Linked DNA regions of Homo sapiens: regions 2, 3, 4, 5, 6 and 7 are each linked to region 1. Evidence: promoter capture Hi-C in 16 types of primary human blood cells and fetal thymus (Javierre and others, 2016). All regions are on one chromosome and are shown on one strand. The core of a region is centred on a gene start or on the middle of the fragment in contact, and the rest is flanking DNA. Distances in the headings are between cores, read along the strand shown.

The links. Contacts are between HindIII fragments. The CHiCAGO score rates a contact against its expected background, and 5 or more counts as called.
Region 2: a fragment that was not itself captured here is called in contact with the fragment with the promoter of TOP2A in region 1 in 1 of 17 cell types (total CD8 T cells); the score reaches 5.9 in total CD8 T cells.
Region 3: a contact is called between a fragment that was not itself captured here and the fragment with the promoter of TOP2A in region 1, in 2 of 17 cell types (neutrophils and M2 macrophages). The highest score is 8.0, in neutrophils.
Region 4: a fragment that was not itself captured here is called in contact with the fragment with the promoter of TOP2A in region 1 in 3 of 17 cell types (neutrophils, M2 macrophages and monocytes); the score reaches 8.0 in neutrophils.
Region 5: a contact is called between a fragment that was not itself captured here and the fragment with the promoter of TOP2A in region 1, in 1 of 17 cell types (naive CD4 T cells). The highest score is 5.3, in naive CD4 T cells.
Region 6: a contact is called between a fragment that was not itself captured here and the fragment with the promoter of TOP2A in region 1, in 1 of 17 cell types (neutrophils). The highest score is 7.9, in neutrophils.
Region 7: a contact is called between a fragment that was not itself captured here and the fragment with the promoter of TOP2A in region 1, in 2 of 17 cell types (endothelial precursors and total CD8 T cells). The highest score is 8.0, in endothelial precursors.

What each region holds. Positions count from the first base shown.
Region 1 is chr17:40,415,951-40,419,679 of GRCh38, reverse strand. TOP2A (DNA topoisomerase II alpha) reads left to right here and starts at 1,784. Exons shown (of 35, transcript NM_001067.4): 1 at 1,784-1,909; 2 at 2,785-2,940; 3 at 3,168-3,258; 4 at 3,612-3,675. The coding sequence starts at 1,889. RefSeq lists enhancers at 1-120, 1,789-1,878, 1,600-2,125. The HindIII fragment of the contact is 7,280 bases long and covers 1,509-3,729 here.
Region 2 is chr17:40,652,711-40,656,439 of GRCh38, reverse strand. KRT222 (keratin 222) reads left to right here. Exons shown (of 6, transcript NM_152349.3): 6 at 1-1,775. The coding sequence ends at 38. Among named protein-coding and RNA genes, the nearest start is that of SMARCE1, 6.8 kb to the right of the region's middle. The HindIII fragment of the contact is 220 bases long and covers 1,691-1,910 here.
Region 3 is chr17:40,189,566-40,193,294 of GRCh38, reverse strand. RAPGEFL1 (Rap guanine nucleotide exchange factor like 1) reads right to left here. Exons shown (of 15, transcript NM_016339.6): 7 at 2,764-2,861; 8 at 2,533-2,655; 9 at 1,801-1,979; 10 at 1,623-1,713; 11 at 1,032-1,082; 12 at 602-689; 13 at 305-369. Among named protein-coding and RNA genes, the nearest start is that of MIR6867, 2.2 kb to the left of the region's middle. RefSeq lists an enhancer at 1,554-1,633 and a silencer at 1,754-1,813. The HindIII fragment of the contact is 2,203 bases long and covers 954-3,156 here.
Region 4 is chr17:40,206,359-40,210,087 of GRCh38, reverse strand. No RefSeq gene overlaps it. Among named protein-coding and RNA genes, the nearest start is that of WIPF2, 11 kb to the left of the region's middle. The HindIII fragment of the contact is 6,806 bases long and covers 1-3,729 here.
Region 5 is chr17:40,600,808-40,604,536 of GRCh38, reverse strand. No RefSeq gene overlaps it. Among named protein-coding and RNA genes, the nearest start is that of CCR7, 37 kb to the right of the region's middle. RefSeq lists an enhancer at 1,541-1,800. The HindIII fragment of the contact is 4,168 bases long and covers 1-3,729 here.
Region 6 is chr17:40,238,270-40,241,998 of GRCh38, reverse strand. The region is part of intron 1 of WIPF2 (WAS/WASL interacting protein family member 2); the gene reads right to left. Among named protein-coding and RNA genes, the nearest start is that of WIPF2, 21 kb to the right of the region's middle. The HindIII fragment of the contact is 5,946 bases long and covers 1-3,729 here.
Region 7 is chr17:40,578,775-40,582,503 of GRCh38, reverse strand. No RefSeq gene overlaps it. Among named protein-coding and RNA genes, the nearest start is that of CCR7, 15 kb to the right of the region's middle. RefSeq lists a silencer at 1-112 and enhancers at 1-120, 141-280. The HindIII fragment of the contact is 784 bases long and covers 859-1,642 here.

The DNA of each region.
Region 1 (3,729 bases), core at 535-3,034:
GAGAGGAAACGGAAGCACCGAGAGGCTTCCTCCATCGAAATGACACGAATGGCAAATTGCTGAGTTGGGACTGAAACCCAGGTAGAGGAAGGAAGCAATGAATGGAAAGAGGTGGCTCAGCTGGAATTAGTAGGCACTCAAATTGTGCAGTTTTTTTTTTTCTGGCTTCTTGTAAGGGTAATAACTTTGTTTAATCCACTCAAACATTTATATGTAAGAGTAATTTTAAAACTTCAGTCTTCGCCGGGCACAGTGACTCACACCTGTAATCCCAGCACTTTGAGAGGCTGAGGCGGGCAGATCACTTGAGGTCAGAAGTTTGAAACCAACCTGGTCAACATGGCAAAACCCTGTCTCTACTAAAAAAATACAAAAATTAGCCAGGCGTGGTGGCAGGCGCCTGTAATTCTAGCTACACGGGAGGCTGAGGCAGGAGAATCGCTTGAACCCGCGAGGTGAAGGTTGCAGTGAGCCTAGATCGCGCCATTGCACTCCAGCCTGGGCGACAGAGTGAGATTCCATCTCAAAAAAAAAAAAAGCAACAAAAAAACAAGCAAACAAAAAAGCTTCAGTCTTGGCATTTCCTTGTCAAATTGGAACAGCTGTTCTGGACTGCAGGGTTCACGGAGGTGAGCAAAAGTAGCCAGTCGGAGGGTATCTGGCCAGCTGGCTGCGGAAAAGGTTTCAGCCCCGGACGGCTGAGCCCACCCTCAGCTCAAGAGGCTACCACCACAAGTTATCCCTTTCGATTTACCAGTTGCAGTCCAGCGCTGCTCTACTGGGGACCTGAATGCTGCCCTCCATTTTGCAAAGCCTTTCTACATCCTTCCACTATATGGAACCCCCAAACCACAACTGTGGCACTTTTATTTTAATTATTTTTATTATTTATTTATTTATGTATTTATCTCTTGAGGTGGCCTCGCTCTGTCACTCAGGCTGGAGTGCAGTGGAGCAATCACGGTTCAAGGCGCCTCGATCTCCGATCCCCGGGGCTCAAGCGATCCTCCCTCCTCAGCCTCCGGAGCTGGAGTTACAGGTGTGCGATGCCTCGCCTGGCTATTTTTTTTCCTTTTTGGGTAGAGACGGGGTCTCGCTATGTTGCCCAGGCTGGTCTCCAACTCCTAGGCTCCAGCGATCCTCCCGCCTCGGCCTCCCAATGTGCTGCGAATACAGACTCCAGCCACCGCACACAGCCTACTTTTATTTCTTTGAAAAATGAATTCGAGGGTAAAGGGGGCGGGGTTGAGGCAGATGCCAGAATCTGTTCGCTTCAACCAAGCAGCCAGGCTGCCTGTCCAGAAAGCCGGCACTCAGTTTCCTCAGGAAAACGAAGCTAAGGCTCCCATTCCCCTCGCTAACAACGTCAGAACAGAGGACAGTTTTTAGATTTCAGGGATCTTAAATAGATTGGCAGTTCCTGGAGAATAAACATCCTTTGCTTTTCTCCTGCACACTTTTGCCTCAGGCCACCCCTTCCCGCTTCCAAAGCCCATCTCTTCCAAGCTTTCCGCACGAGAAAACAAGTGAGCCCTTCTCATTGGCCAGATTCCCTGTCAATCTCTCCGCTATGACGCCGAGTGGTGCCTTTTGAAGCCTCTCTAGTCCCGCCTCCCTAACCTGATTGGTTTATTCAAACAAACCCCGGCCAACTCAGCCGTTCATAGGTGGATATAAAAGGCAAGCTACGATTGGTTCTTCTGGACGGAGACGGTGAGAGCGAGTCAGGGATTGGCTGGTCTGCTTCGGGCGGGCTAAAGGAAGGTTCAAGTGGAGCTCTCCTAACCGACGCGCGTCTGTGGAGAAGCGGCTTGGTCGGGGGTGGTCTCGTGGGGTCCTGCCTGTTTAGTCGCTTTCAGGGTTCTTGAGCCCCTTCACGACCGTCACCATGGAAGTGTCACCATTGCAGGTACGGCTCGCGGGGGGGACTGGCGGTGGAGCCTCCGCGCGGCCCGGGCATCTCTCTGGCCGCCCGTGACGGGTGAAGCTCTGGGGCTGCGGTCAGGCCGGCGACCGGCTTGGGAGCCCATATTCTCCATTCCCGGTTCCGGGGTGATCGTGGAGAGGCGGAAGCCCCTTCTGGTGCTAGTAGTGAAGTATGACCCGGCTTCCAGGGTGTCGTGCGTTGTTGCCCTGTTTCTAGGGGCAGGAGTCCGTTGGTCCCGTAGTGGATCCATGTTACAGCGGCCCGGGTGCGACGTTATTGAGTCGCGCGTACAGATGCTTTCCCCTCCTGCCCGCTGCTTGAAAACGGTCTTGAATGTCCCCGATCTTGGAAAGGGCAGAGCCTAGCACAGTGTTTCTCTGGAGCAGCTGGCCAGCTTACAAAAGCGCCCCCTTCCTGAGTTCACAACGCTCAGGTGGCCAAGGGATTGAACGGATAGCCGCCCAAACTGCTGCTGCCGAACTAGAATTATTTACGGTGTCGTGTGCTCGGGACACCGTAAATAATTTATAATAATAGGCACTCGGTAAATAATGTATGCAGGAACTGAAAGAAGTGGGTGTATTTTATTGATGACATCTACCATGTTGCTCAAGAAAAGAGGTTTCCAGACAGACCCACTTGGTGAGATAATATGTGTCTGTTTAACCTGACACCTGGGGACCTGGCCGCAGCGAATTTAAATTGTCCTATTTGTACAAAACTGGCAACTCCACCACTGCCTACTAACAGATTGCAATGCATGTTGACATCTCACTATGGTAGGCATTTTGTTCCTAGTTTAGGGTAAACTTATGATTAAAAATTCCCTTCTTTCTCTCTTTTTTTTTAATTGCTAGCCTGTAAATGAAAATATGCAAGTCAACAAAATAAAGAAAAATGAAGATGCTAAGAAAAGACTGTCTGTTGAAAGAATCTATCAAAAGAAAACACAATTGGAACATATTTTGCTCCGCCCAGACACCTACATTGGTTCTGTGGAATTAGTGACCCAGGTAAAATCAAGCTCATCAAAGGCAGTTAACCTAGTAGTTGAAATGGATACTCTTCTTTCTGTACCTTTCATGTACTGAGTGTGACCTTTCTGTATCTCTCATGTACTGAGTGTCACTGGAACTGGCCTAAATATGGTAATACTTAATATGAACACTTTATGGTAATCATGATAACAGAACAATGAATATAGAATAAAAATAACAGTATTTCTTTGCCTTATTTCTAGCAAATGTGGGTTTACGATGAAGATGTTGGCATTAACTATAGGGAAGTCACTTTTGTTCCTGGTTTGTACAAAATCTTTGATGAGATTCTAGGTGAGTAAATCCTTTAATATAAAGATCTGGTCAAATCTTTCATAAGAAGTATCATTCCAAATAAAAATTTAAAAAAGATAAAAGTAAAAACAAAAAGTATCATTTCTACCAAACCTGCTGTAGCCAGGGCTCCTGTCATTTCAATCAGTTGATAAAGGTGAGCTGGTTTCCTGGAGCCCAGGAGGTTGAGCTTCTCGTAGAAACAGTACTATGGACAAAAATTGCTAAATTAACACCTTGTTAATGCCACTCCTGTGCTGTTTGGGAACTTTTTTTTCTATATCTTACTTAGAGTTACAGAATGTTTCTTAAAACACTAATTTCTTACAAATGTATATTTTATTTTCTTTCAGTTAATGCTGCGGACAACAAACAAAGGGACCCAAAAATGTCTTGTATTAGAGTCACAATTGATCCGTACGTCTTTTGCTTAGTTTTTGTTATGTAGCTCGTTGCTATTGTTAGCTGCAT
Region 2 (3,729 bases), core at 551-3,050, 240 kb before region 1:
GTATTCCCTCTATCAAACCTCCATCAACAGCTAATTAATCCAAAGATAGTATTTGACTTGATTGGAAAATGTTAGGATGGACCAAGGTGGGCCATACCAACTCCCTCTGTCCCAAAATGTAAGTTATTACGTATGTATGGAAAATGTTATGATCAATATGTGGTTCTCTTCAGAAGAAAAAAACAATAAAGGACATTTCTCTGAATCTAATTATGGAGATAGACATATATATATATATATGAATGAGAGGGAGTAGCTTAAAAATAAAATCACAAATCCAGTACAGTCTCTTTCTTTATATTCTCCCAATAGTCTTCTTTTTCCCTTGAAACTTCATCAGAGACTGTAAGCATTAACCTGGTTTAGTAAAGTCTTTGTAATTTTTTTCAATGGCTGAATACGCTAAGGAAAAAAGAATTGTTTGAATAGGATTGTGTTAAGAGTCACACTGAGTTATTCACCATTATTCCATGACTGGTTAAACCTACAATGTTTGTTCTATTTTTCAAAAAGAGCAATTATAAACAAGTTTTTAAAGGGGGACTCACTATTCACCTAATGAGGATTCTTCTTTTTGAGATAAATCATTTGTATACTGAGAAAAATGAGTTATTTTCCATGAGAAATTCTGAGCAAACTATAGAACACACCCCAGGGCTAATTTGAGATAAGTACAATTAAGTTAATCTACATATATCTAAAAGGTTTTTTTTGTAATAAGTATCTGATTTCCGGAAGATTTACTTTACTCAAGGAACTTTAAAGGTTGTATCCCCCACCAAAAAAAGAAAAAAAATCAGAAGGCCAACTGCGCAAACAAAACATGAAAAGCAAATTGAAAAGGTAGTTACTATAGTTATCAGAACAGTTACCCACCATCCCAGTTTTTCCAACTGTAAAGCTAAATGTGATTAGATTGTTTGCTATAAGCCGTAGATAAGATACTATATGAAGTATTATAAATATTTCTTGCAATCATTTATGTGAACTAAGATAACGGTATTGTTATCTAAGCTAAGAGTATTTAGAGGATTTGTTTTTAAATCGTTCAAATTGTAATAAATATGGGTAGAAAATATATTTGTGAATAAGTGAGGTATTGTTGCAAAGTTTTTAAAATAACCTAATTTGTTTAATACAGGTATATTTAAGATCTTAATAAATACCTGTTTTAAGACATTAGAAATTTATAAGTTCTTAATTCTTTTCTAAGCAGAAAAAGTAGCTGAGTACAACTCACCATACTTTTTCCCAGCTAAAGTATCATCTAAGGGCTATAGCTACGTTAGCATTTTAGTACAGCCTTTAAAATATTTCTCTCTCTCTCTCCTCTCTCTTCTCCTCTATCTCTCTCTCCATATATACTTATTATATATATACATATATATAATTTATATATATGTATATATATATTTCAACCAGAAAAATGTATGTTTTAACCAGGAAAATATTATGTTAAATAATCTTTAACATAATACAGGGATATAAAATTTTTAATTTTCTTTCAATTACTTCAGATTCCTTTTAGTCTGGTTTATTCTATTTAGTGAAAAGGGATGATTTTGTTTTGTCAAGGATATAACAGCATGTTAAGTGCTTATTCTTGCATAAGCATCTGACCTAAAATACATCCTATACATAAAAAATGTTTCATTTGATATTGCTAAATGCTACTAACTTTATTAAAGCTTTAAAAATGCAATCATATAAGCTATTGTACTAAAGTTACTGTACTAAGCAACAGTGATCATAATAAAGCAATATATCTAGCATAATCTATTGCAGTGTTAAAAAAAACTTAGTACTGGTCGTCATGAATGTAACTGCTTGTTGTAGCAATTCCAGTATGCATCTATTGGGTGTATAACATGTAGATTTTAAAATACAGTATTTGAATTTATAATGAAGCTTTATTTGCTTTGGGGCATTTTAAATTGGGATATGAATTTACCAAGGTAATGATTCCACTACAATTAAAAAAATGAAACATGGCCAGGCACGGTGGCTCATGCCTGTAATCCCAGCACTTTGGGAGGCCAACGTGGGAGGACTGCTTGAGCCCAGGAGTTCAAGGCCAGCCTGGGCAATATAGCAAGACCCCATCTCTCTAAAAAGTAAAAATAAATAAAAATTAAAAATTGAAAAAATTGAAATATGAATGCTAAAGCTGCATTGTATGTGAGTTTGAACGCAGTCCTTTTAGTTCAAAAATATCTCTGCATGGTTAAGTGAAACAAAGAACTAATTACTCCAGTATGGTTAGTTCATTTGGGGAATAAAGAAAACTGCAATCACAGTAGATAGATAATGGTTTTTAACTTGTTTTACAAAAGAGTTAAGAATGGTATATCAATATTTTATTCTAGTTTTTTAAAAATCAAAATAATCACATAATCCCATAGTTCTGGAAAAAGTTTAATAATGGCAGCACCATTTGCAAAGCACTTACTCAGCTCTAGGCACTGTGTTTATCCCTAATAATCCCTAATCCTTCCTTACAACAATCCTACAAAATGAATAATATTATCCTTGCTTTACACATGAGTAGAAATTAATATTCTTTAATCTCTCTGAAATGTTTCAAATGCATGCTTCCATAAAAAAATACAAAAATAAAGAGTAATTCCAGTTACTAACAATTGTAGGATCCTAACCCTGGCTCTGTCACTAACCATGTAACCAGGAGGGGCCACTTTAAGTTCCTAGGCCTCAAGTTTTACACTTGAAAACAAAGGAAAAGGTAAAGCTGGATAATAATTCCTACTCTACCTACCTTACAGTTGTTTGAAATAATATACAAGCAAAAATATTTGTTAAAGCACTGCTCAGATATACAGTACTATTTGGAAGAAAATTGTCTTTAAAGAATGTGTGGGGGAAATTACAGCGGACAATGATTAATAGTTCAAAACACAACAGGTAAAGATACTATTTTTAATTTTTCAATTGCTTCCAGAACAGTTATTCTTTCCCAGTGAGTCACCCAATTTGAACTGTTCTGTCATGATAGCTTTTAAAGTACAAAAAATGTTCTCTATGCCAAGCACAGTGTCTAAAGTATAAAAATGTTCTCTATGCCAGGCACAGTGGCTCACACCTATAATCCCAACACTTTGAGAGGCCTAGGCAGAAGGATTGCTAGAGCTCAGGAGTTCAAGCCCAGCCTGGGCAATACAGTGAGGCCTCGTCTCTATTAAAAAATTTTAAATTAACCGAATATGGTGACACACCAGTAGTCCCAACTATTCAGGATGCTGAAGTGGAAGAATTGTTTGAGCCCAGGAGGTGGAAGATACAGTGAGCCAAGATCATGCCACCGAACTCCAGCCTGGGTGACAGAGTGAGACCCTGTGTCTCAAAAAAAAAAAAAAATAGTTCTCTAAAGATAATAAGTGATTATTATTTTGAGCCACTAAATTTTGGGATAATTTGTTATGCAGAAATATACAACTAATACTGCACATAAGCATATTTCTTATTCATTTGCTAGAGATCTTTGTATTGGCAAAGTTCAGTTTGTCCTTCAATTTGTTTTCTTACGTTTTTAGAATTTTTTAAAAATCTGTTGGCCGGGCATGGTGGCTCACACCTGTAATCTCAACACTTAGGGAGGCTGAGGCAGGAGGATCGCTTGAGCCCAGGAGTTTGAGACCAGCCTGGGCAACACAGTGAGCCCTCGTCTTTACCAAAAAAAAAAAAAATCAAAAACTTAACCCAGTGTGGTAGTGT
Region 3 (3,729 bases), core at 806-3,305, 230 kb after region 1:
CCGCCATTCTCCCACTCTGCTTTACTCCCTCCAGTCTCCAATTCTGGAGGGTCTCTGAAGGACCAAAGGAGTGGGTGTAACAGAGTGCCATGTGAGGGGGAGGTGAAGTTGCCCCCAAGCTGCCTGTCAGCTCTGCCACCTGTGGGTGGGTTGCCACAGTGATGCCACCAGGGAGACAGTCAAGAGTCTGTTAGGCAAGCTGGGCACTTGGAGGAAGGCTGCTATTTTTGGGAGGTGATGAGAGAGGGAGAGGATGCAAGCCCCCCACTTGTGGGACTAGGGGTTTGCAGTGCCACTCACTCACCAGCTTCTCGATGTTCACCAAACCATCTACAAGGGTCTTACTCCCTTCGTGCAGGAAAGTCAGGTCTAGGGGATGTGGAGAGAATCCAATGTGAGGAAAGGATAAGAGAGGAGTTCGAAAGGGGCCACTGCACCCGAGGACCCCGCTCTTCCCCAGAACCCACTCCGTCTGTGGTGGGGGGCTCCTCTCCAGGTGGGTACTCAGGGCTGAGTCGAGAGGGAGCTGGAAGTCAGAAGCAGGGCATAGGAGAAGGGAAGCATGGGTGGAAGCGGCACAGCTTGGGAGTAACTCTCTCACCTTTGAGGATCAGAGGCACGAAGGGAATCACAGGGGGCTTCATTTTGGAGATCACTTCTCGGTAGCTTTTGTGGTTCCTGCAGGGGTCCTAGTATTCCACAGGAGAGAGATCAAGGGACAGACTGGCCAATGCATCCCAAAGATGTCCTCAGCTTCCTCCCTCACCCCCTGCCTTGTATACATTCCTGATCAGATAGGGGTGCTGGGGGCTTTCTAATGGTGTGGTGGGGAGGGACCTGACTACTCCCCCTTTCCTTCAAGAAAAACAGGGGCGCAATCCTTCCAACCTCACCCTCCAGCATGGTAAGGAGGGTGGGGGGTCCCATACACTAAACACCTTGAAAGGAAAGCTTGAGGAAGGGGGTTTATGGGAACAGAGGGTTTCTGGGCTCTCAGTCCAAGAGCAGAAGAAAGAGCCAAACCCACTCACCGTCAGGTTCTCAAATTTGCGAAACAAGTTCTTGAATTTCCCTGGCAGCTTCTGCAGAGTTTGAAGGAAGGAGAAGGGATATCAGAGTGGAGCTCCTTGGGTTACATGGGAGCCTCGGATTAATTCTCCCTGTTGGAGGGCAAAAGGGCCTGCATGGCTTGTAGGGGGCTGGGAAGCTGGTGGGTGGGGAAATGAAGTCAGGCCTTGGCTAAGTCTAGAGGCTTGAAACAGCCCAGAGGAATTCATTATTCTGGGGAAGGCCAGGTCTGTCTTATGCAGGTGCTTTGTATAAAGATGCCCCCACTGAGTGTGGATGAAAATCAGCCCAACTCCCACAGCCAAGTCTGCGACCTGACCTGGCCAAGGGCTGCCTGCCGTGACTCAGGCGGGATCCGGGCTTTTCACTAATTTGCACAAAGACAGGGTCCATTAGCCAAGCTGTGCGCCCTGGGGTTGCGTATGCCAGAAGAGGGCGCCTCCCTCCAACTGGCGCAAAGACTCCCTCCAGGCCGGCGGCCGTCCCGGGAGGACGCACTTCGGGGAGCCCGGGATGCCCAGATTCCCAGGTAGGAACGGGAGGGGTCTCATCACCTCCCAGGTGAGTCGAAGGCGGCTGACAGCGGCGTTGTCCAGCCCCATGACCACGGCGTAGAAAGACAGCAGGTCCTGGTTCTGCTTGCAGCTGCGGGGGTGGGAGGCGGGGTCAGGGGCGGGCGGCGGCGCGGGCCTCCGGCCTCCGGCCCCCCATCCCGCCGACGGCCGCACTCACAGGGCCGCGATCTTGATGAACTTCTTGAGCAGCTGCGCGCGCTTGCCCGGGGCCTCGCAGAGCAGCACTTCGGTGGCCACCCAGTGCGTGACCTCGCTGCAGCGCTGCAGCAGCAGCTCCAAGTTGGCCGTCTCCCGGCGGCCGCGCTCCCCGTGGAACACGTAGTCCACGAACTCCAGCTGCACCCACGGCAGCGGAGGGGCGGCCAGGGCGCCAGGGGGTGAGGGGAGTGGGTGGGAAGATGGCAGTGCAAGGCGATGAGGAGCGAAAGGCAGGAGGGCGGGGGCGGAAGGGGTGGAAAATAGAAAAATAGAAAGGACAGGAGGCGGCAAAGATGCGGAAAAAGAAAACAACCAGCATTAATAATATTTCACCAGCTACTGAGCACTTACTAGGTGCCAGGCATTCGCTCACGGCTGACATCCTCAAGACAACCATCTGCTAGGCATTATTGTCTCTGCCTTATTTTATTTCTTTAATAGTGAATATTTTAAAAATAGAAATCCTGGGTCAGGTTCTGTGTAAACAGCACTTGGGCCCTGAGCCACTGTGCTCTGGGGTCTCTCTCTTTGCGATTTTTTTCAGATGGGGGAACAAAGGTTACGGCCATGCGTTGCCCAAGGGCTTGCTGCAAGTGAGCCTTGGAACCAGGACGTTGTGCTGCGAACACCGTCTCCCAATGGCACATTTCTCCCTCCAGCCCCCCAGCATAGCACCAGCCTCGGTCCCCACCTCATGCACACATCGGAACAGCTCCCAGTGGAAGGCAGTTAGGTGGTTGGCAACGTCCTCAGGCTCCACTCGGTGGATCTCTGTGTCTCCAGGGGAGACCTGGATCTCCTCGGGGAGGGGCACCTGGTGGCAGGCAGGGGCATAGGGGCTGGGCTCCTGGTGGCAGGGTGAGGGATTGCTCACAGCCCTCCTCAGCCCTCCATTCCAGTCAAGGCCTTGGGAAGTTCTTACCAGAGCCTCATAGCTGTCCCGAGTACAGGCAAACAGGTGGCTGTTGATGCCCAGTGCGGTGAAAACACAGTCCTCAGTGGGCTGGAGAAGGACCTTCTCTGCAGGAGAAAGAGCTGCTCATCCTCGGCCCCTGCCGCCTGCACCCTCACACATCCCACACTGACACTGTCCTATCCAAAAACTCCTCACCCCACACTGACACATTCTAGACTAATGGAACTCATCTTATCACTAGTTTATGCCATATTTATCTGGAATTTGTCAAATGATTATTTCTTTTGCATTTATAACTTTTTTTCTACTCCCTTTCTTTCACAGCTTTTCTCTTACTCTGTTGTCCTTGTGACACTGGGAAGGCTGAAATTTTTTCCTACTGTAGAGGAAAACAAAGCTTCAGTGACATTGCTGGCTTTCTGCCTTCCCACTCATCCTGTGTCTTTAGCCTGTGAAATGTGGCATCCTTACATACACAGGGAGGTTAAAGGATCAGAATACAATCCATAGGTGAGTGAGGGGCAGCACTCAGATCAGAACCTGAGTCCTAGACCAGTGCCTCCCAAACTTTTTTTTTTTTTTTGAGACGGAGTTTCGCTCTTGTTGCCCAGACTGGAGCACAGTGTCTTGATCTCGGCACTGCAACCTCCGCCTCCGCGGTTCAAGTGATTCTCCTGCCTCAGCCTCCCAAGTAGCTGGGATTACAGGTGCACACCACCATGCCCAGCTAGTGCCTCCCAAACTTTAGTAGGCATAGGAGTCCCCTGGGGGGTCCTGTCCAAATGCTGATTTGAACAAGACCAGCAGGTCGGGGTGGGGTCGCAGATGCTGCATCTCTTTTAGAGACAGAGTCTTGTTATGTTGCCCAGGATAGGGCGCAGTGCCTATTCACAGGTGCAATCATAATGTACTACCTTGGATTCCTGGGCTCAAGCAATCCTCCTGCCTCAGCCTCCTGAGTAGCTGGGACTG
Region 4 (3,729 bases), core at 791-3,290, 210 kb after region 1:
CTGTCTGTCTGCAGAACCTAAGGCCTCTTAGTTCTCCCCACTCTTGAATAAGGTGAGACTTTGGGCAAATTATCCAACCTCTACCAGTCTCAGGTTCCTCATCTGCAAAATGAGCAGATAAGCCCAAATGGAATGCATCCCAAGTGTTTACACACATGGAAACCACTCACCAATCTTAGCCATGTTTGTGATTAGAGTATCAGCAGCAGAGATGGAGAGGGGTAAGTCTAGAGATATTTAAGAAAAGGAATGCGGGACCAAAGAGTGGGAGGACCCAAATATGATTGCTAAATTTCTGACTTGAACTCCTGCTTGGAGGTGATGTTAACACTTAGCTGGAAACAGTTGCAGAGCAAGAGGAGGGGCTGGGGCACTGGAGGAGCCCGAATAGCACAGTGGAATGACCAAGAAGAGAGATTCCTTAGATCACTGGATATTTGGGTCTGAAACTGAGGAGAGTAATCCTAGGAATTTGGGACTCATAAACTGTGGTAGCTAATTTCCAAAGATGGCTCCCAGTGAACCAGGAGTCCTGGTATTTATTGAATGTGGGGCTGGCCTGTGACTGCTCTTAACCAGTGGAATGCAGCAGAATTGAAGCTGTACCAGGTTCAGGACTAAATTGTAAAAAGACTTGACAGCTTCTACTTTTTTGCTTTTGGGAGTCATCTCCCATGTGAGAAATCAGGTACTCTGCTGCAGAGACCACCTGGAGGGAGAAGCCTGGACATGGAGAGAAAAGTCCAGCCATCCTTGTGGTCCCTTTGTTCCCACCAGGGCTCAGGACATGTGAGCTAGCATCCTAGCTAGCTCCAGTGGCTTTTTTTTTTTTTTTTTTTTTTTTTTTTGAGACTGAGTCTCGCTTTGTCAGGCTGGAGTGCAGTGGCACGATCTCGGCCCACTGCCATCTCCGCCTCCCGAGTTCAAGCGATTCTTCTGCCTCAGCCTCCTGAGAAGCTGGGATTACAGGCACCAGCCACCATGCCCGACTAATTTTTGTATGCTTAGTAGAGATGGGGTTTTGCCACACTGGCCAGGCTGGTCTCAAACTCCTGACCTCAGGTGATCCGCCCGCCTCGGCCTCCCAAAGTGCTGGGATTACAGGCGTAAGCCACTGCACCTGGCCCTCCAGTGGCCTTCTGACTGCAGCAAGAGAGACCTCAAGTGAGACCAGAAGAACTATCCAGCTAAGCTCCCATCAGCCCGGAAGATCATGAGAAGTTATAAAATGGTTGCTGTTTTTAGGCTGGGTGCAGTGGCTCACACCTGTAATCCTAGCACTTTGGGACGCTGAGGCAGGTAGATCACCTGAGGTCAGGAGTTCAAAACCAGCCTGGGCAACATAGTGAAACCCTGTCTCTACTAAAAATACAAAAATTAGCTGGGCGTGGTGGCTCATGCCTGTAATCCCAACTATTTGGGAGACTGAGGCACAAGAATCACTTGAACCCAGGAGGCGGAGGTTGCAGTGAGCCAAGATCATGCCACCGCACTCCAGCCTGGGCGACAGAGCAAGACTCTGTCTCAAAAAAAAATAAAAAGTAAAATAAAATAAAACAAAGTTGTCATTTTTAAGCTACTAAATTTGGAACTGTTTGTTATGCAGCAGTAGATTCCCAAACACAAATATGACGATGAAATCTAAGCCCAGGATTATGGAAGGAAAAAAAAAGGGCTCAAGAGGGAGCTGGGGCACTCCACATACAAGGACCAGGCTGAGGGAGAGGCCAGTGAGGAAGACTGAGAAAGAGAAGACAGGGAAATCCTGAGAACGTAGCATCCTGGAAGCAGCGATAAGTGTTCCAGAAGGAAGAATGGTCAGAAATATCAAATGCCAGCAATAGGAAAATAAGTGTTCTTGGATTTGGTAACATGGGAGTCATCGGTGCTCTTGACCCAGGCAGATTATGTGAGTGATGACAGAGAAAGCCAGATGCACTGGGTTGAGAATCAAAGAGAAACACAGAACAGCAAAACCAAACAAACCAGTAATATATGCTGACCTGGATGAGCCTCACAGGCAGAGTGTTGTGGATGGGGAGTTGCTGAACACCACATCCAGTATGATAATATTTATATAAAATCTAAAAACATTCAATTGGCCAAGCGTGGTGGCTCACACCTGTAATTCCAGCACTTTGTGTGGCCGACCGAGGCAGGCAGATAGCTTGAGGCCAAGAGTTTGAGACGAGCCTGGGCAACACGATAAAAACCCCGTCTCTACTAAAAATCCAGAAAAATTAGCTGTGCTTGGTGGTGCGCGCCTGTGGTCCCAGCTACTCAGTAAGTTGAGGTGGGAGGATCACTTGAGTCCAGGATGCAGAGGCAGAGGCTGCAGTGAGCTGAGATCGTGACACCGCACTCCAGCCTGGGTGACACAGGAAGACTCTGTCTCAAAAAAAAAAAAAAAAGAAAGAAAAGAAAAGAGAGGCTGGGCGCAGTGGCTCACGCCTGTAGTCCCAGCAGTTTGGGAGGCCGAGGCGGGCGGATCACGAGGTCAGGAGATCGAGACCACAGTGAAACCCCATCTCTACTAAAAATACAAAAAATTAGCCGGGCGTCGTGGCGGGCCTCTGTAATCCCAGCTATTCAGGAGGCTGAGGCAGTATAATCACTTGAACCTGGGAAGCGGAGGTGGCAGTGAGCCAAGATCATGCCACTGCACTCCAGCCTGGGTGACAAGAGTGAGACTCCATCTCAAAAAAAAAAGAAAGAAAGAAGAAGAGAGGACACAGAGAGACACACAGAGGAGAATGCCTTGTAATGATGGAGGCAGAGACTGGTGTGATGAGTCTAGAAGCCAAGCAAATAAAATTCACATAACATAAAACTCACCATTGTAACCACTTTAAAGCATCCAAGTGAGTATATAGTATATTTACAATGTTGTACAGCCATCACCACTATCTAATTCCAAAACATTTTCATCACCCAAAAAGAAACTCCATACCCATTAGTAGCCTCTCCCCATTCTGCTCTCACCCCAGCCCATGGCAACCAGAAACTATCTACTTTCTGTCTCTATGGATTTGTCTATGCTGGACATTTCATATAAATGGAATCATACAATATGAGGCCTTTTGTGTCTGGTTTTTTAGCACAGTTTTTTCAAGGTTCATCCATGTTGTAGTATATATCAGTACTTCATTCCTTGCTATGGTTTGACTTTGTGTCCCCACCCAAATCTCATGTCAAATTGTAATTTCCAATGTTAGGAGGGACCTGGCAGGAGGTGACTGGATCATGGGAGCAGATTTCCCCCTTGCTGATTCCGTGATAATGAATGAGTTCTCATGAGATCTGGTTGTTTAAAAGTGTGTGGCACTGGCCAGGCACATGGCTCACGCCTGTAATCCCAGCATTTGGGAGGCCAACGCGGGTGGATCACCTGAGGTCAGGGGTTCAAGACCAACCTGGCCAACATGGTGAAATCTTTTCTCTACCAAAAATACAAAAATTAGCCAGGCATGGTGATGCATGCCTGTAATCCCAGCTACTCAGGAGGCTGAGGCAGGAGAATCGCTTGAACCCGGAAGGCAGAGATTGCAGTGAGCTGAGATCATGTCACTGTACTCCAGCCTGGGCGACAGAGTGAGTCTCAAAATAAATAAATAAATAAATAAATAAAAGTGTGTGTCACCTCCCCTTCTGCTCTCTCTTTCCTGCTCATGTGAAGATTACTTGCTTCCCCTTTCCCTTTCTGCCATAATTGTAAGTTTCCTGAGGCCT
Region 5 (3,729 bases), core at 692-3,191, 180 kb before region 1:
TCAGCTAAAAATGACCTCTGCCCCATTTTGAACTCACATCACAGCCTGGCTCTGTCTCTTATTTACTGCCCTTGAAGGGAAGATCCCTATTTGATTCAATCCACAGCATCTCATTAGAATTCAAATGATGAGTGAGGATTTAAACAATTCTTGTGAGAGAGGGTGGGGGGAAAGAAAGAACTTAGAAACAATGATGTTATTGGCAGATTGGCAGAAATAGGCAACTACAGCCAGCTACCAAAACAAGAACAGTAGCAGACTGAGTAGATTGGAGCTTGGATCCAACTTGCAAGTTCAAGGGAAGGGGACATTCAACACAGACTTGCTGCTACTCAAGGTGTGGTCCATGGACATCGCCTGGGAGCTTGTTGGAAATGTGGAATCTCAGACTCTATGCTAGACTTTCTGAATTCCACTCGAATTTTTACAAGACTCCTGTGCACTCTAAATTTTGATAAGCATTAGGCAGACTAATGGTTCTTTTTTTGTTTTGTTTTGTTTTTTGAGACGGGGTCTCACTCTGTCACCCAGGCTGGAGTGCAGTGGCACGGTCTCCGCTCACTGCAACCTCTGCTTCCTGGGTTCAAGTGATTCTCGTGCACAGGCATATGCCACCAAACCCGGCTAATTTTAGTATTTTTAGTAGAGACAGGGTTTCACCATGTTGGCCAGGCTGGTCTCGAACTGACCTCAGATGATCCGCCCGCCTCAGCCTCCCAAAATGCTGGGATTACAGGCGTGAGCCACCACACCTGGCCTGGGATCATCTGAAGAGCTTTTAAAAATGCTGATGCCCAGGGTGTATCCCAGAACAACTGGCATCATGTTGATTTTTGTAGCTCACCAGGTGATTCCAATATTCAGCCAGGGTTGAAAGCCATTCATCTAGACCAACCCTCCAATTTGCAGGTCAAGAAACTAAAGTCCAAAGGGGTAAACTGACCTGCCCAAGGTCACACAGCAAGGGAGTGATAGTGCCTGGGACCTGAGCTCCAGTGCTCCACCCCCAGGGCTCTCTTCACTGGACTTCACTGCAAAATGGGGCAAGGTGGAGCGGAGCACCAGCGTTTCCCTTCTGGCTTGGCTTCTTCACTGTTGGGTCCTCAGCTCAGATCCCAAAGAAGGAGCTTCCTAGATGCAGGTGGCCTTACGCCTTTGAATTCCCAGGTGGACTATGGCCATAGAGGCCTCACGCTCTCAGGCAGTAGGTGCCAGAAGCCTGGGGCCAGGTGGGACTCTGCTTCCTGACCGGTGGCCAGTCTCTAGGCTGGAACAGCCTCACACTCTCACCCAGCCAGCATGGGCCTGCCATTCTCACCCGCCCCCCACCATCTTCCCAGAGAGACGGAGCCCTCAGGGACTGTCCCACCACAATTCTCAGAACTCAGGTGAAGTTTCTGACCCCCCACAGCCGCAGCTCCCGACTCCTCTGAGAACTGCTGGGACAGGCCTGTTCTCAATCAGCAACCGCGACTGTCTTGAAACCATCAGAGGCTCCCTCATGACTTGTTTTCGCTCTCTTGTCAGGGTTTTGGGGGTGTGTGTGTCTCAAACCTCTGATTGTCTCTGCTTTGTGACTTTTTCTGGTGTGTTTTTGAAGTGGCTTTTTGTTATTCTGCCTCCACTCGCTCATCTTTCTCGGCAGCCGTGGAAAACACTCTCGGCCTGTTCTGCTCTCCACCGAGCACTTGGATCCCTTGTAAACAGCTTGCCTGGTGGCCTGGACCAGGCTGAACAGATAGGAAGGGCCTGGGCCTGTCAAGCCTTTGAAAATAAACATGCTGCACTGAGCTTCACCATGCTCAGGGAGGAGGATGGGGTAGACACGAGAAAGCAGAAAGAACTTTCTAGGCACAAGATTACTCTCCTGACGGCCGAGTGAGGTCTTTTCCACCGCCCTAAAACAGGCAAGAACAGAGGCCTGCCCCTTCCCTGAGCCTCAGGCCTGCTAGAAGGAGGGCACCCACCTGCAAAAGCCTTTCCTGAAAAAAAAAGAAAAAAATTTTTTTGAAACAGAATCTCACTTGGTTGCCCAGGCTGAAGCGCAAGCGGCATGATCATGGTTCACTACGGCCCTGACCTCCCCAGCTCAAGCGATCCTCTCACCCTAGCCTACCAAGTAGCTGGGACTACAGGTGCGTGCCACCATGCCTGACTAATTTTTTTTTTTTTTTGTAGAGATAGGGGTCTCACCATGTTGCTCAGGCTGGTCTCAAATGCCTGTGCTCAAGCAACCCTCCTGCCTCAGCCTCCCAAAGTGATGGGACTGCAGGCATGAGCCACCATGCCCAGCCCTCTCCTGAAATGTGAGAGGTAGATCTTAACTTGCACTGCCCAATATAGTGCCACTAACCACACATGTGACTACTGAGTGCTTAAAATGTGGCTACTTTGCGAGCATGGTGGCGGGTGCCTGTAGTCCCAGCTACTTGGGAGGCTGAGGCAGGAGAATTGTTTGAACCCGGGAGACAGAGGTTGCAGTGAGCCAAGATCGCACCATTGCACTCCAGCCTGAGTGACAGAGTGACACTCTGTCTCAAGAAAAAAAAAAGAAAAAAAAGAAAGAAAAAAGTGGCTACTTTGACTAAGGAACTGAATTTTTTATTTAGTGTTGCATAATTTAAATAGCCACGTGTGGCTAGTGGCTACTGTTAGACAGCACAACTCAAAAGCAGGGTTCTCAAACTAGGCTGCATATTAGAATCACCTGGGAGCTTTAAACCACTCTGACGCCTGCAGCCATCCCTGGTGACTTTGATTTATTGCCACTGGGTATGGGCAGAGCCAGAGTTCTGAAAGCCCCACGTGTGATTCTCACGCACAGCCAGTTTTGCAAAACTCTGGCCCAAAGGACTTCCCACAGCTTTTCCACCTCTGACATCCTACACGTTGATCTGGTCTCTACAGTTTTCAGAATTTAAGGAGCAAGGAATTTACTTAGAGAATCAACTCAAGATGCTGGAAAATGTTTTTCTATGTTCTAAATGTAATGCATGTTCGTTGTAACACATGGGAGAAAATTGAGAAAACTCAGAGAAATGAACAGAAGAAAGTCAAAATCCCCTAAAATCCCACCACCTAGAGAAAAAGGGTTGAAACACTTAGACGTATATCCTTCAAGGCATTTTTCCATGGATAGAGCCTTATTTTCCTTCAAAATTGAAATCCTACTATGCTTCCTATTTTGTAATGTTTTTGTCACTTTACTTATTTGATTAACAAATATATCATCAATTGTAATGGCTACATGACATTCTATTGCATATAAACCACTATTTATCCAAATTCATATTAATATTGGCCCCATTTTTGCTATAATTTTTAAAAACATTGCTATGAAAAAATACAATGTCTTTATGAAAAGCCATTCACTAACTCCTTAGGAGAAAAGAAAAAAAAAAGAATTCAGTCAAAAGGCATAGAAAATTCTAAGACTTCTCCTAAATGTTTACCAAATGACTCTCCAGAAAAGTTGAACCAGTTCACATTCCCATCAACAGAGCATGAAAGCACCTATATTTATATGCATGTTGGCACTGGGGATTGAACTTTTCAAACTTAACAAGGTTCGAAAAAAAAATGTTTTCAACCACCAACAGGCAACCCTTCGTTTCAAAGTTCAGCACACCTTTAACGAGCACTGACTATGTGCCAGGTGTCACCTTAGGTGTTGGTGATAAAGATGAATGGAATGCATCCCTGCCCTCTAAGAACTCAAGAAAGGGGAGA
Region 6 (3,729 bases), core at 704-3,203, 180 kb after region 1:
GATTTCCAAGAACTGAGAACTAGGGTACCACAGTTAGCCTCTGCAACACTGCTAAGACAAGTACTATTTGGCTCTTAACCTCTAAGCAATTCACAACCAAGGAGCAGCTGCAAACACATTTCCAGATACTTTACAGACTGGCAGCAAAAGATACAACCCTTTTTCTTTTCTAGGCGTAGGAATCTATAATACAAAAGGGAGAATTGTGTCCTTTTGATTGTAAAGTTAAAAACAAACTTCAAATCACAGTGCTTCAACATCTCCAAAAATGACGCTGCATAAACCCAAGGCAGATTAGGACATCTGTTTTCAAAGCCTGAGTCAATTTTCCATTTCACCAAAAACACTGATTCCTGGACTTAGTAAATTGGTGCAGAGCAGCTCAATGTTCATAACTAGTATTTCCTCCCCTGTACATCCCAGGAGCGGGTTTAGAGACGCTGACTAAAAAAAATGAAGTCACACAAGCCCAAAGTTATTACCATCAGCCAACATTTAATACTAAAGAGGGGAGTTAATCAGAGGAAAGACACACATGCTAATTCAGAAATCCAGACCAAAGCTAGACAGGCTAAAACAGAGTCTGAATACAAAAGCAGTATTAGGGGAAGGCTAAGGAGTTTGCCATGGAGATGTAAGATGGCATTAATGGTTTAAAAAGAATCCTTCTAAAGCAGGGTTTCCAAACTTGCCTGAAGATAAGACATATTTAGGGCATTTGTTTAAAAACAAACACACTTTAAAAAAAGATCCCTGGGCGCTAATCTAAACCAACTAAAATCAGAAGTTTTCCAGGAGAATGATCTGGTAATCTGTATATCCAACAAGCACTTTAAGTGATTCTTGGTGTTAGGGAAGTCTAGAAAACACTATGCTAAAGGAGTATTAGTAATCAACTGTAAAGACACTGTGGTGTCTGAATGGATATTGGCAAGGAAAAGCTGATGAATATGTTGAATAACATGTTAAACATAATATATTGCATGCATTAATCAATGTTCCATCATAAAACACCATTAAAATTACAGCAAAAGGATTTTTTTTTTTTTTTTTTGAGACGGAGTCTCATTCTGTTGCCCAGGCTGGAGTGCAGTGGCGCTATCTCGGCTCACTGCAAGCTCCACCTCTCGGGTTCATGTCATTCTCCTGCCTCAGCCTCCCGAGTAGCTGGTACTACAGGCGCCTGCCACCACGCCCAGCTAATTTTTTTGTATTTTTAGTAGAGACGGGGTTTCACTGTGTTAGCCAGGATGGTCTCCATCTCCTGACCTCGTGATCTGCCTGCCTCAGCCTCCCAAAATGCCGGGATTACAGGCGTGAGATACCGTGCCTGGCCAGGATTTTTTTTTATAAAGACATAAACCAAACAACAAGCAAAAAAACTGGGAAAGGAGACAGCAGAGAGAGAGATGTCAACAAAGTTTTGGAAGGTAAAAAGCAAATGCACTAGTGATAAATAACTTCACAAAAGTAAAAAAAAAAAACAAAACACTGCAGTGGGAAGAAGCAAGCAGATTCCCACCACAGATGAACTTCTGAATCAAAACGTCTCAGAAATTAGAGGCACCTGGTACCTCGGGAAGATGGGGTGATAGTGTAGAAGGGGCTAAACAGGAGGACTGGTTGAAAGTCTGGGACTGGCACGGTGGCTCACACCTGTAATCCCAGAAGTTTGGGAGGCCGAGGCAGGTGGATTACTTGAGCTCAAGGGTTCGAGACCAGCCTGGTCAACCTGGTGAAACCCCGTCTCTACTAAACATACAAAAAAATTAGCCGATTGTGGTGGCTCATGCCTGTAGTTGCCAGCGACTTGGGAGGCTGAGGCAGCAGAATTGCTTGAACCTGGGAGGTGGAGGTTGCAGTGAGCTGAGATTGCACCACTGCACTCCAGCCCGGGCAACAGAGCAAGACTCCATCTTAAAAAAAAAAAGAAAAGTCTGTATAACAAATGGATTCCTCCATCCCTCCCCATGCTGCCAGGCAAATTAGAAAAGTTAAACCAGGCCAGGCTCGGTGGCTCATGCCTGTAATCCCAGCACTTTGGGAGGCCAAGGTGGGTGGAACACCTGAGGTCAGGAGTTCAAGACCAGCCTGGCCAAGATGGTAAAACCCCACCTCTATTAAAAATACAAACATTAGCCGGGCACGGTGGCAGGCACTTGTAATCCCAGCTACTTGGGAGGCTGAGGCAGGAGAATCCTTTGAAGCCGGGTGGCAGAGGTTGCAGTGGGCCAAGATAGCGCCACTGCACTCCAGCCTAGAGATGACAGAGTGAGACTCCGTCTCAAAAAAAAAAAAAAAAAAAAAGAAAAGCTGAACCAAAGAGTCCAAAGGAACTAGTCACAGCTAAGGGCAGTGACGGAAATAAGGGTATCAAGTGAAAAGCCTAATGAGTCAACGGTGAGACCTCTCCTACCTCCCCAGCTCCTTTCTCTCACTTGGCTCCAAAAACATTGGCAGCCAGACTTACACTCAAACACCTGCCACTGGCTTATACTCTCTAGGCAGGGGACTGGAGGAGTCCTTTTACCAGCCTGCCAGGGTGCCTGTAATCCCAATACCCTATAGTAGGGTCCACCACTTGATGAGCTTCTTAGTGTCACATTCTTAAAAATAAACAGAAGCCAAGGCTGGGCGCAGTGGATCACGCCTGTAATCCCAGCACTTTGGGAGGCTGAAGGGGGCGGATCACGAGGTCAGGAGATCGAGACCATCCTGGCTAACACAGTGAAACCCCGTCTCTACTAAAAATACAAAAAATTAGCCGGGCGTGGTGGCGGGCGCCTGTGGTCCCAGCTACTTGGGAGGCTGAGGCAGGAGAATGGCGTGAACCTGGGAGGCGGAGCTTGCAGTGAGCCGAGATCGCACCACTGCATTCCAGCCTGGGCGACAGAGCGAGACTCCGTCTCAAATAAATAAATAAATAAATAAATAAATAAATAAATAAATAAAATAAAATAAACAGAAGCCAGACACAGTGGCATGAGCCTGTAGTCCCAGCTACTTGGAGGTAGGAGGATAACTTAAGCCCAGGAGTTTGAATCCAGCCTGAGCCCCACAGCAAAACCCCATCTCTTAAAAAATAAATGGCCGGGCACGGTGGCTCACGTCTGTAATCCCAGCACTTTGGGAGGCCAAGGCGGGCGGATCATGAGGTCAGGAGTTTCAGACCAGCCTGACCAAGGTGGTGAAACCCCATCTCTACTAAAAATACAAAAATTAGCCACACTGATGGCAAGCGCCTATAATCCCAGCTACTCGGGAGGCTGAGGCAGGAGAATCGCTTGAACCCGGGAGGCGGAGGTTTGCAGTGAGCCGAGATTGTGCCACTGCACTCCAGCCTGGACGACAGAGTGAGATTCTGTCTCAAAAAAATAATAATAAATAAATAAATAAGGGCAGGTGCAGTGGCTCACACCTGTAATCCCAACACTTTAGGAGGCCGAGGCAGGCAGATCACCTGAGGTCAGGAGTTCAAGACCAGCCTGGCCAACATGGTAAAACCCTGTCTCTACAAAACTACAAAAATTAGCCGGGCATGATGGCGGGTGCCTGTAATCCCAGCTATTTGGGAGGCTGAGACAGGAGAATTGCTTGAACTGGGGAGGCAGATGTTGCAGTGAGCCAAGATCGTGCCATTGTACTCCAGCCTGGGCAACAGAGCCAGACTCCATCTCAAATAAATAAACAAATAAATAATAAAAATTGAATAAGCAGCTAAGAATTATC
Region 7 (3,729 bases), core at 1-2,500, 160 kb before region 1:
TCTGTGCACACGTCCTGACAAGTCAGGAAACCGCCGCCGGGCCATGGCAACAGGTGTCAGGGTGACCTGAGGCTTCCCGCTAGCCTGTGCCAAGCCCTCCTTCCCTTTTCATGTAAGTGCCACACGCTAACCAATTGCACCACTGAGAGCTCCTCTCCTTCCCTTTTCTTCATCCTGGTGAGCCATCCTCTTCCTCCCTGCAGCCTCACAACTTATTTTCCTCACACCTGTTGGCCCTTTCCCTCTTGGTTGTCCAAGGTCCGAGTAAGACCTTAAAAGGCCCTGAACCCTATAAAGATTGCAGTCTCTCTCCAAATATAATTCCTAATACTCACCAGACAACACAAAATGTACATGTGTGCTGAAATTAAAAGAGCATCTTTTTAGATTTTCTGATTACTGAACTCTTCTCAACTTTGGGATGTCTTCATCTGGCTGGGGCCCTGTGTCCATACCAAATCTGCCTGTTGGGTTACCCCACACTGGTGGAGGCTCATTTTCGTTGGCTTCACATGGGAACAGATTATTCCCAAGTGAGATAAAACAGGGGCAAGAGGTGGGGGCAGGAGTGAGAGGTGTGATCTTGGACTTTGCCCACTAAATGACAAGTCCAGAGGGACAGGAAGCCATTGGACACTCTGGGTAGAGCCAGGACACTGCTACTATGACCATGGACTCCATATGCAAGAAAGGCAGGACTGAGTTTCTGAGCTTCTGCAGACCTGGCTCCCTCCAGGGGACTCTGGGTCTGGCTCCTCTGTCGATTCTCTCCAGATCAGAGGCCTCCTCTAGGGGTCTCAAGACTTGTCCTGTTCTTTTTCATAATAACAGGGGCTGGAGTTTCTGGTAAGCTAAGCTTTTCTTTATCCTCTGGGTAACCAAGTCATCAGTGAGGTGGTTGGACTGAATGACTATAAAGGTTACTTGTAGGTCCTTCTCCCTGCTCATTCTCAGAAACCTTCGTAAAACAGGATGGGATGTAAAGACCTGTCTGAGGGTGTCTTTCCCAGGAAGAGAGGGGGCAGCCGTGGTCTGAGCTCTTCCGACCATGCCCAACATCAGTAAAGGCAGCCTGGCATAGTGGGAAAAGCCCCTTAGCTTAGAGTCAAATATCAAGTCACTTTCCTTTCAAGTCTCAGCTTCCTCAATCATAGAATGGAAACCTGCCACACAGGGCAGCCCGAGGGCTAAATGAGATGAGGTATAAGGATGTGCTTGGAGATGTGGATGCCCATGCTATTTTCCATTGCTTGTCAAGCTCCTCAAGGCCCAGGACTAGGTTGATGGGCCTTCAAGCCCTAGCACCTGGCCTAATACCTGGCAGAGTAGGTGCTCAGTGAATGGATGCTGGATGAATGAATAGAGGGACAAATGGATAGGTAAAGTCCTAGGAAGCAGGCAATTCTGGGAAACGCTGTAAACACCACCTGTTCTAGATGCCACAGCAGCAAAGAGAGATTGCCTTCAAAGACATGGCCAAAGTCAAACATAATTCACGTGCCAAACACAGCCACACCACTGAGCAGGCAAAAAAGGCCAGACATTGGCCCCACAGGCCACATCACCCCAAAAGCCAAGTTAAACAGTATAGCTCACCCTGTCTTCTGAATTCCCAAATTAAGCAACTCAGAGAAAGTAAGCTTGCTGAGGTCAGCCCGGCAAGACTTCTGGCCTTGGTAATTTTTTTTTTTTTTTTTTTTTTTTTGAGACAGGGCCTTGCTCTGTTGCCCAGGCTGGAGTGCAGTGGCTTGATCACAGCTCACTGCAGTCTTGACTTCCCAGGCTCAAGCAATCCTCCTGCCTCTCAGCCTTCCAAGTAGAGGGCACTACAGGCCTACGCCACCACACCCGGCTAATTTTTGGATTTTTTTGGAGAGATGAGGTTTCACCATGTTGCCCAGACTACACTCAAACTCCTGGGCTCAAGCAGTCCTCCCACCTTGGCCTCCCAGAATGCTGGGATTACAGGCATGGACCACCACTCCCAGCCTGGCCTTGGTCCTTCTACTGACCACTCACCACTGCCTTCCCCCTGCACCTGGGCCCCTTCTACTCCTCTGTAGATGCCATCTTTTTTATACCCTTCCTGATTCCCCTTCTATGTGCTCCTACAGCATGTTGAGCATGCCCCCCTAGTTACCTCTTACTACATTGCACAATAATAGTGTCTTCTATTATTTTTTAAATATTGTGAAATAATTAATACTTAAAGGTGTAAAGAATAATACAATGAAGACTTTTGTAGGTCTTGAATGAAGACAAATCATTACCAGTAGATATAGCAAATACCAGTTTAAGCCCCTGCATACCTCTCTCTCTTTGCATCCCCTTCCCTCCCCATCCTAAATTTAGTGTATACTACCTCCTGCTTGTTTTTATGCTTTTACTGCTTACAGGTAATTGCTTTTTCATTTGTTCATGTGCCTCATTTTTATGAACTGAATGTTTATGTCCCCCCTAAATGCATATGTTAAAGCCCTAACCCCCAATATGGCTGCAGTTGGAGATAGGACCTCTAAGGATATAATTAGTGTTAAATGAGGGCATAAAGGTGGGGTTCTGATCCAATAAGATGTGTTCTTATAAGAAGAGACCCCAGAGAACACCCTCCCTCTCCCCTCACACATGCACCAAGGAAAGGCTATGTGAGGGCATAGCAAGAAGGAGAAGGTGGCCATCTGCAAACCAGGAAGAGGGCCCTCACCAGAAGCCAACCCTGCTGGACCTTAAGCCATTCAGCCTGTGGTATTTTGGTACAGCATCCGGAGCACAGTAATACACCCACAGTGCTTTATGTAAACTTGGCAAGGCCAGGGACCATGTGTGTTCATCTTTGTATTTGTAGAGTCCAGCACCACGCCTGGCACATAGTGTTCACTAAATATTTGTTGAATGAATAAATGACAACACTGCAGGTGAAAACAGGTACCCTAGAGTCCATTCCTTAGGAGCAAGATGTTCTCTGCTCTGCCATGATACTCAAGCTACTGCCGATACCAGGATCTGCAGTCAGTGTCCAACAAAGGAAATTTGAAAGTAAGGAAGAAAGGCATTCTCCAGACAGGGGTAAAGGGAGCGGTAGCATCTTTGGAAAAGTTTAAAGTCCCTTCATCAATCAATCAAATGTTTATTAAGCACCTGCTTATTAAGTATTCCATGTTGAACAGTCTCTACTTCCATAAGGCAATCAGTCTTTGGAAGACTAAAGACCAAGTGGCCCAAAGATGCCCCGGATATAAACAAGCACAGTGCTTTTTGGCATCTCTTATGAACATGTTCTTTGGACAGATACTTTGAAGTGTCCATGGCACTCCAATTGGAGAACATGAACTCAGAGAGCTCTCCTTCACTTATGACACAAACTATATCCACAGCACACCTTGGACACAATGGTGCCCATTCTTTTTTTTTTTTTTATACTTTAAGTTCTAAGGTACATGTGCACAACATGCAGGTTTGTTACATATGTATACGTGCCATGTTGCTGTGCTGCACCCATTAACTCATCATTTACATTACGTATATCTCCTAATGCTATCCCTCCCCCTCCCCCAACCCCACTACAGGCCCCGGTGTGTGATATTCCCCACCCTGTGTCCAAGTGTTCTCATTGTTCAATTCCCACCTATGCGTGAGAATATGCGGTGTTTGGTTTCCTGTCCTTGCGATAGTTTGCTCAGAATGATGGTTTCCAGCTTCATCCATGTCCCTACAAAGGACATGAACTCA